2 separate regions of the Homo sapiens genome follow, and region 1 is linked to region 2. Evidence: promoter capture Hi-C in 16 types of primary human blood cells and fetal thymus (Javierre and others, 2016). All regions are on one chromosome and are shown on one strand. The core of a region is centred on a gene start or on the middle of the fragment in contact, and the rest is flanking DNA. Distances in the headings are between cores, read along the strand shown.

What was found. Contacts are between HindIII fragments. The CHiCAGO score rates a contact against its expected background, and 5 or more counts as called.
Region 1: a contact is called between the fragment with the promoter of NCS1 here and the fragment with the promoter of C9orf78 in region 2, in 1 of 17 cell types (M1 macrophages). The highest score is 5.4, in M1 macrophages.

What each region holds. Positions count from the first base shown.
Region 1 is chr9:130,170,449-130,173,890 of GRCh38, reverse strand. NCS1 (neuronal calcium sensor 1) reads right to left here and starts at 1,487. Exons shown (of 8, transcript NM_014286.4): 1 at 1,164-1,487. The coding sequence starts at 1,227. RefSeq lists enhancers at 1-123, 1,585-2,373 and a silencer at 1,421-1,510. The HindIII fragment of the contact is 9,600 bases long and covers 1-3,442 here.
Region 2 is chr9:129,833,876-129,837,236 of GRCh38, reverse strand. C9orf78 (chromosome 9 open reading frame 78) reads left to right here and starts at 1,962. Exons shown (of 9, transcript NM_016520.3): 1 at 1,962-2,098; 2 at 2,471-2,530. The coding sequence starts at 2,016. USP20 (ubiquitin specific peptidase 20) reads right to left here and starts at 1,779. Exons shown (of 26, transcript NM_001110303.4): 1 at 1,738-1,779. RefSeq lists an enhancer at 1,029-1,529 and silencers at 1,501-1,650, 1,681-2,030. The HindIII fragment of the contact is 4,419 bases long and covers 1-3,361 here.

The DNA of each region.
Region 1 (3,442 bases), core at 238-2,737, 340 kb before region 2:
GCGTGGGCTTGGACAGACCTGCAGACGTGCCCAGAAGGCCGATGGAGTGGGGGGAAGCGGGGAGCAGAGGTTGTGCAATGCACCACCAGGAGCTGCCTCCCCAGCCTCCATCAACACATGGGGCTGGCGGTCAAGCTGCTGCCTCCAGGGGTGGTGCAGAGGGCCTGGGCCCACGCAGCTGCCCGGGGATGGGTTCTGAATTCCAACCCAAGCCCAGAACCACTGTCCCCTTCCAAGTCAAACACCCAGGCAGAGGTCCTTCCAGACCCCGATGCTGAAGCCTTCCCTCTGGCAATCCCCTGGGTGGTCTGGACCCATTACCATTAACCCCTGGTATGCCAGGGCACCTCCGGAGAGGCTGCAGGGAAGGGGGAAGCCTGGTATGGAGAAACTAGGACTGCAAGGGGACTGCAGAGTTGTGAAGTTAGGCAAGTGGAGGGAGACACACTGAGGCTGATCTGGAGACGCCCAGAAAGGACAGGCCATCCTCCTCCGGGCAGCCCGCGACAGCTAATGATCACACGCGGCCCAGATGACCCGGGCTGTAGAAACCCACTTCCCGGTGTGGCAGACAGAGATGGGGCCAGGGAGAATCCAGCCTGTAAGTGCTGCAACCCACAGGGTGCCGGGGACCCTTCACCGCCGTCACCGCACGACGAGCGCTGTGCCAAGTCTCGCCACCCCCCCCCCCACACGAACGGGGCCAGGGAGGGGGCGACAGGCCAATCTCGCAGCAGCGGCGGCGGCGGCATCGTGATGCATGAATCACCAGCCCCGCGCGCTCGTGCCAGTCGGCTCCGCGCAGCCGGGCGCCCCCTCCCGGGACCACCGCCCCACCCTGGCAACAGCCCCTGCCCGTTGGGACAGCTCTGCGGAGAGGGGGCCGCCAGGGGGCTGGGGCTGCCCCTCCGGACCTAGGGGTGGCGCCGCGCACGCCGACCGGCGCGCACTCCCCGGGCTGGGGGTGCCAGAACAATGGGGCCGGGCGGGGGGCAGGGGCGCGGCCCGGGAACCTCCGAGGGGTCCACATTGGAGGCCGGGCGGGGAGGACGGAGCGGAGGCGGCAGCGCGGAGCGGGTAGCGCGCGGGTCCGGGGGGCGGGGGCGGGGGCGGTGGGTGTGGGGGTGACCGCGGGGCGCGGGCTGGGGGCTGGGAGCACTCACAGTAGGTCTTCCTGGTCAGCTCCTCCACAACTTCGGGCTTCAACTTGCTGTTGGATTTCCCCATCCTCGGCGGCCGCGGCCCCCGCCCCCCCGGGCCGGACCCGGTTGGGGCGCCCAGCAGGAGCGGCTGGGCCGGGCGGGCCGGGCCGGGGCCGCGCCTTTGTCTGCGGCGCCCGCGCTGCGCTGCGCGGCTGTCGGCGCCGGGGCGCCCGGGGCGTGGGGCGGCCGCTGGGCAGGCCCGGGCGGTCCGGGCGCCGCGGCGCGGGGCTGCCTGGGCTGGGCGCCGGCGCCGGCGCGGTGTGGCCGCGGTCGTCCCTGGTTACTGGGCTCCGCGGCACATGCTCGCTGCTGCCTCCCGCCTGCCGCCGCCCCTGCGCTCCCCGCCTCCCGCCTCCCCCCTCCCGCCCGCACCCGCGCGCCAGGGGTGGACCCGGAGCCGCCACTCAGCGCCCGGCGCCACCTCCCGCCCCGCACCCGCCTGGCCGCGGCCTCCGCCAGCTGGACCCCGGCCTCGCCAGCCAGCCGGAGGGGCGTCCCCTCGGCTCAACGCGGCCCCAGGGCGGGGCAGCCACCCCCGCCACCCCCTCCCCGAATCCAGCCCTGGCGCTCCGGCCCCCGCCGCGGCGGGGAGGGCCCGGAAGATCGGATGTGAATGAGGCCAGGTCCCGGCCCGGAGACATTCATTCATTCGACACGGATTCATGGGGTGCCGGGGACACGGCGGCCCACGGGACAGGAGTGCCCCAGCCCTCGCAGGGCGGGCAGGGGGCTGTGCGGGATGCGGCAGGTAGCGGTGGGAGCACCTACTCTCGGCCTGGGGGCAGGAGACCTCCAAACCCAGGGTCAGGAAGGGAGGTGGATGGAGAAGCGTTCTGGCCCAGGCAACCTGGAGAGGCGGGGAGGCCTGCATGCCCGAGGGAGAGTTCCCCGGCTTGCGGGCTTGCGCACGGCTGCAGGCACAGGGGACCTGGGAGAAGGGCAGGGCCCACGGGGCAGGCCAGGAGAGGCCCCTCGCCGAGGAGCTGGGCCCCTGCCCACCAGCGCCCATGAAAGGACTTCAGCAGAGAGTGATGGGTCAGAGCTGCTGGAGTGACAGGTCAGAGCTGCTCAGAGCTGTTTCTCTGAGCCGAGGCTGGGGTGACAGGCTCCACCTGAATGGACAGAGGCCAGTGGATTCGCGTAGGGGGGTGTGGTTCAGGTGGTAGGTCCAGCATGGCCTTCCCGGTCCACCTCATCCAACATATCATCATATCTTGAGAACTCTCCTATCCTTTTCGGCTTTAGTTTCTCTCCTTCACATCCATCACAAACGTCACCTATGTTTTCTGCATCCTGTTTGTCTCTTCCATGGGAGAACACCCTCCCAGAGGGCAGAGGCATCTCCATAACCCAGAAGGCCGCCTGAGGTGTTACCCAGCAAATCTCTGTGAATGAGCGAAGGACGGAGGAAAGAATGACACCCGGTGCTGGGGCCCTGGGGTAGGGGAGAGAGCGGGGAGGATGAGGCAGCCCTCCCCGGGGCTAGCAGGGATGAGGCAGGAGTGGGGTCTCTTTCTCCCTTCTTTCCACAGTGTTCTAACCTCGGAGGGTCCAGAAAGCTCAGAGGAACCCTGAGCAGGGCCGAGTGCCTTCCAGCTCCCAAATATCTCTCCTGCCTCTAAGCATACTCCATCCACTCCTGCTTTCCCCTGAAGCCCCTGCCCAGGCTGAGCCCCAGGCCCCAGGAAGTCTTCAGATGGGGATGGACTTGCTGGCTTGGGGAGCTCATTCTGCAGAGGAGGTGGGCCCAGTTGGAGGGATCTGGTGTAGACCTGGGAGCAGAATGTCCCAACCTTGAGGACCAACTCAGAGTGGACAGCAGTGAGGGGCCCACAGTGGGGGGCTAACAGTTGACCAGACTGTGCTGAGCATCCTGCCTGGGAGGAGGGAGAGCCAGCACGGGAACCAGGGCCTGGCTGGATGACAGCAGTAGTAGTTAAAGCCCTTTAGAAACCCAGGTGCTCAGGCTGGGTGCAGTGGCTCATGCTGGTAATCCCAGCACTTTGAGAGGCTGAGGTGGAAGGATTACTTGAGCTTAGGAGTTCAAGACCAGCCTGACAGGGGAGACCTCATCTCTACAAAAATTTTTAAAAGTTAGCTGGGCTTGGTGACACATGCCTAACTCCCCGTTACTCGGGTGGCTGAAGTGGAAGGATCACTTGAACCCAGCAGGGCGAGGCTGCAGTGAGCCGTCATTGTGCCACTGCATTCCAGCCTGGGTGACAGAGAAAGACCCTGAC
Region 2 (3,361 bases), core at 713-3,212:
GACAGTCTCATCCTACGCTTAAAAGGGCCCAGTGAGACTTGGGCTGCAGTCTCTTGGCAAAGCCACTTACTGCCAGATTCATAGCTGCCACTTTTTCAGCATTCCTTTTGCTAAAGAGCACTCAATTAGATCTGCCACAGCACAGGTGGTGGTTATCACTGGGTCCTCTGGCCTCATGGAGCAAGGGTGGGAGCAGCTCATCTGTACCCTGGGACTTCAGCTGAGGAGGAGGGTCCAGAAATGCCCCTGGCCTTCTTGCCCTTTCCTTAGTAGTGTCCAGTACCCCCTGGTGGATGGGCTGCTTGATGGGCAGATTCAGAGCCACCTCTGAGAGCGTGAGAGCTGCAGACGTTGACCCCCTGGACTCCTGCAGCAATTCCCAAGGAGCCTCTCCATCATCTGACAGGGACTCCGTATCCAGTGAGTGCACGTGCATCTGGGTTTGGCTGAACCAGTCTGCAGAGGGCAAGACTTTGAGACTTTAATATATGGCTTTTGACCAAAGATAAAACGCTGGTGCAAGAAGTCCCGAGTCTACTATTTTTTCCAGCCCAAGGAAGAGAAGAACAATCTCAGTGGAGACTGTTCCAGAGAAAACGTAAGGCATTCTAGAAATGCTGCCCTGCTTCGGAATGGTCTTCCAGAAAGGGGAACCCCAGACAGCCCCCATCGGCCCCTCCCCCTAGCCAATGAGATGTAACAGCAGCTGCAGCAGCAGCAAACATCTACTGCACTCCTACCGTGCCAGGCCCTGTGCAAACCGTGCGGCAGAGACTGACCTGCAACCAATTCCTGTTCCACCTCCTAGCTGGGTAACTTGAGGCGTGCACTGCCCCTCGGAGACTCCGCATTCTCATTTGTAAAACGAAAAACAATCTACCTCAAAGGATTGCTGGGAGAATTCAATGAGATGATGCTTTGCCCAGGGCCTGCCACATAGTAACTGCTTAATAAGAGGTAGTTCTCAAAGTAAGGGATGACACTGAGAAAAGGAAAACTACTGTTACTTAAGGGGTTCTTAAAAGTCCTAGAAGCCATTATTTATGCATTTAGGTATTTCCTAAGCGTTTGCTGATACCAGTTTTTCAAATAAACTTTATCCTCACAGCATCTTCGGGGTGGAAGGGGCAGAGGGTAGAGCGACAGACCTGCCGAAGGAGGAAAACCAGACCCGTGAAGGTCCAGGGGGGTGGCCGGCAAGCACCGAGGAGGAGTCCCCCGGCTCAAACCCTCTTGCGTGGCTTCAAAACATCAGACGCGCCTCTCCTCGCGGAGAAGCTGGGGGCCATTATTTGTGAGGCAGTCGGCGCTGGGACTCTAAGTCAGCACCGCAGAGAAGTGGTCATCTTTTGTTCCGAAAGAAAAAAACGCACGTCAGGGCTCAGAGCCCGAGGAAAGAAAAGTCAGCGCCCGAGACGCGAGACGCCACGCGGATGCTTTCAACGCTAGGTCAGGCCCCGGCAGAAATGAGAGGGGGGCGGCCCCGGTTCTGGAGAAGCCACGAGCCCCCAGGGAGCTCAGAGTGGGGTGGTGCTGGGGCCCAGAGGCCCCCCTGGGCGCCGACCGGAGGAGGGGAGAGGGGCGGCGGCGGCCGGGGGGGTCCCGGGCTCCGCTCACCGGGCCGCTGCGTCTGGCGTACCTGGCGAAGCCAGGCCCTGTCAGCCCGGAGCCGGGCTGGGGTCGCCAATGCTCAGAGGCCCGGCCCACAGAAGCAGCCGGTGGCGGCCCGGAACTCACCTGCACTCGCAACTGCGCCGCCGCCGCCTGTCAGTCAAGCGCGCCCCCTCTGAGGCGACGCGCAGGGTTGTGGGGCCGTCTGGCGACGCCCCACCTCCTTCCCTCTGCCGTCCAATCGGAAGAGGCTGACGCCAGGAGAGGGGGCGTGGCCACGCGGACTGTGCGTGCCGGGGGCGGGGCCAGACGGGGCAGGCGCTCTGACCGCTCTGCCGCGCGCCGGAAGCAGCCTGGGCCGCTGCGCAGAGGCGCGGCGGCTGTACAACTCGGCCGTTGTCACCATGCCGGTCGTCCGGAAGATTTTCCGTCGCCGCCGGGGCGACTCGGAGTCAGAGGAAGATGAGCAGGACTCAGAGGAGGTTCGGTGCGTTTGGGGCGGGGCTCCCATAGGCTTGGTAAAGATAGACTTGTTTGGGGGACTCACCACCGGCTCGGCGCTTCGCTGACATTGTTAACTGTGAGCTCGGGTGGTGGTTCCTTCTGCGGACGCAGAAATTGAGGCTCAAGGGGTGAGGCCACCGCCCCAAGCTCGAACGGTTGAGAGAGATGCCTCCGGGATGCGCAGTGGCTCTGACTCCCGGTGGGTCTAGGCACAAGGTCGTCCTCTGGACCACTGTGCTGGTGGCTCAGTAGCTGGGCTGGGATGCCCTCGAAGGTGCCTTATTGGCTCTGTTAGCTTTGGATTCCGCGGGGAATCACTCAGCTTATGCATTGCTGCTTCTTCTTCTTTTTAAAGATTAAAACTGGAAGAGACCAGAGAGGTACAGAACTTGAGGAAGAGGCCCAACGGGGTGAGGTGGGTACCACGCGGGGAGGAGGAGGAGGCGGCGGGGACGACAGACACATCCGCGTCCGGGTCGCTGTCACAAATATCTCCTCAGACGTAGATTTTTCTCTTGACACACTGTACACCTTCCACTGCCCAACTTGGAGAACAGCGTTCTTTGCAAATGTTTAACCAGGACATGCCCTGAGCTGTGTCGTCTCGGGGTGTGCTCCAGAGATACAGAAACAGATCACTAACTCGCGTTTTTTATTAAAACCAATTAATTGTGAAATGCATATCGATCGTTAAGAGTTTGTATAATTTAGAAAAGTATAGTCAAGACGATAAAAAGCACCCATAATTCTCCCATCCGGAAATGATCAGTGTTAACATTTTTTTTCCTTGCAGAGCCACCCAAGAATGCACTGGTATTAATATTGAATACTCTTTCCAATCTGTTTTTTTTCGTCTCTCTCTCTCAGATTGTGAACAACTTTCTATGTACTTTTATTCCCTGTTCTTTTCAACTCATTATGACATTGTGGGCATTCACCCATATTGTGGAATATTTTTCAGAAAGCCTTAATGGCTGCATAATATTCCACCAGATGTGTGTATTGTAATTTGTTAACAAATCCCCTATTTTGGGACATGTAGGTGATTTTGTAAATTTTTACTATCAAATAAGGCTGCAGTGGATATTCTCTTAAATTTATCTTTAGCTGCACTTTCCATGATGAGAATATCTTAGAAATGAGATTTCCAGGCCAAGATAATGCCAAATGGCTTTACAGGAAAGTGGCAAAGTGTACCACTTCACCACCAGCGCACCCTTCTTCCAGCATCTGCGGTGCTCGTTGA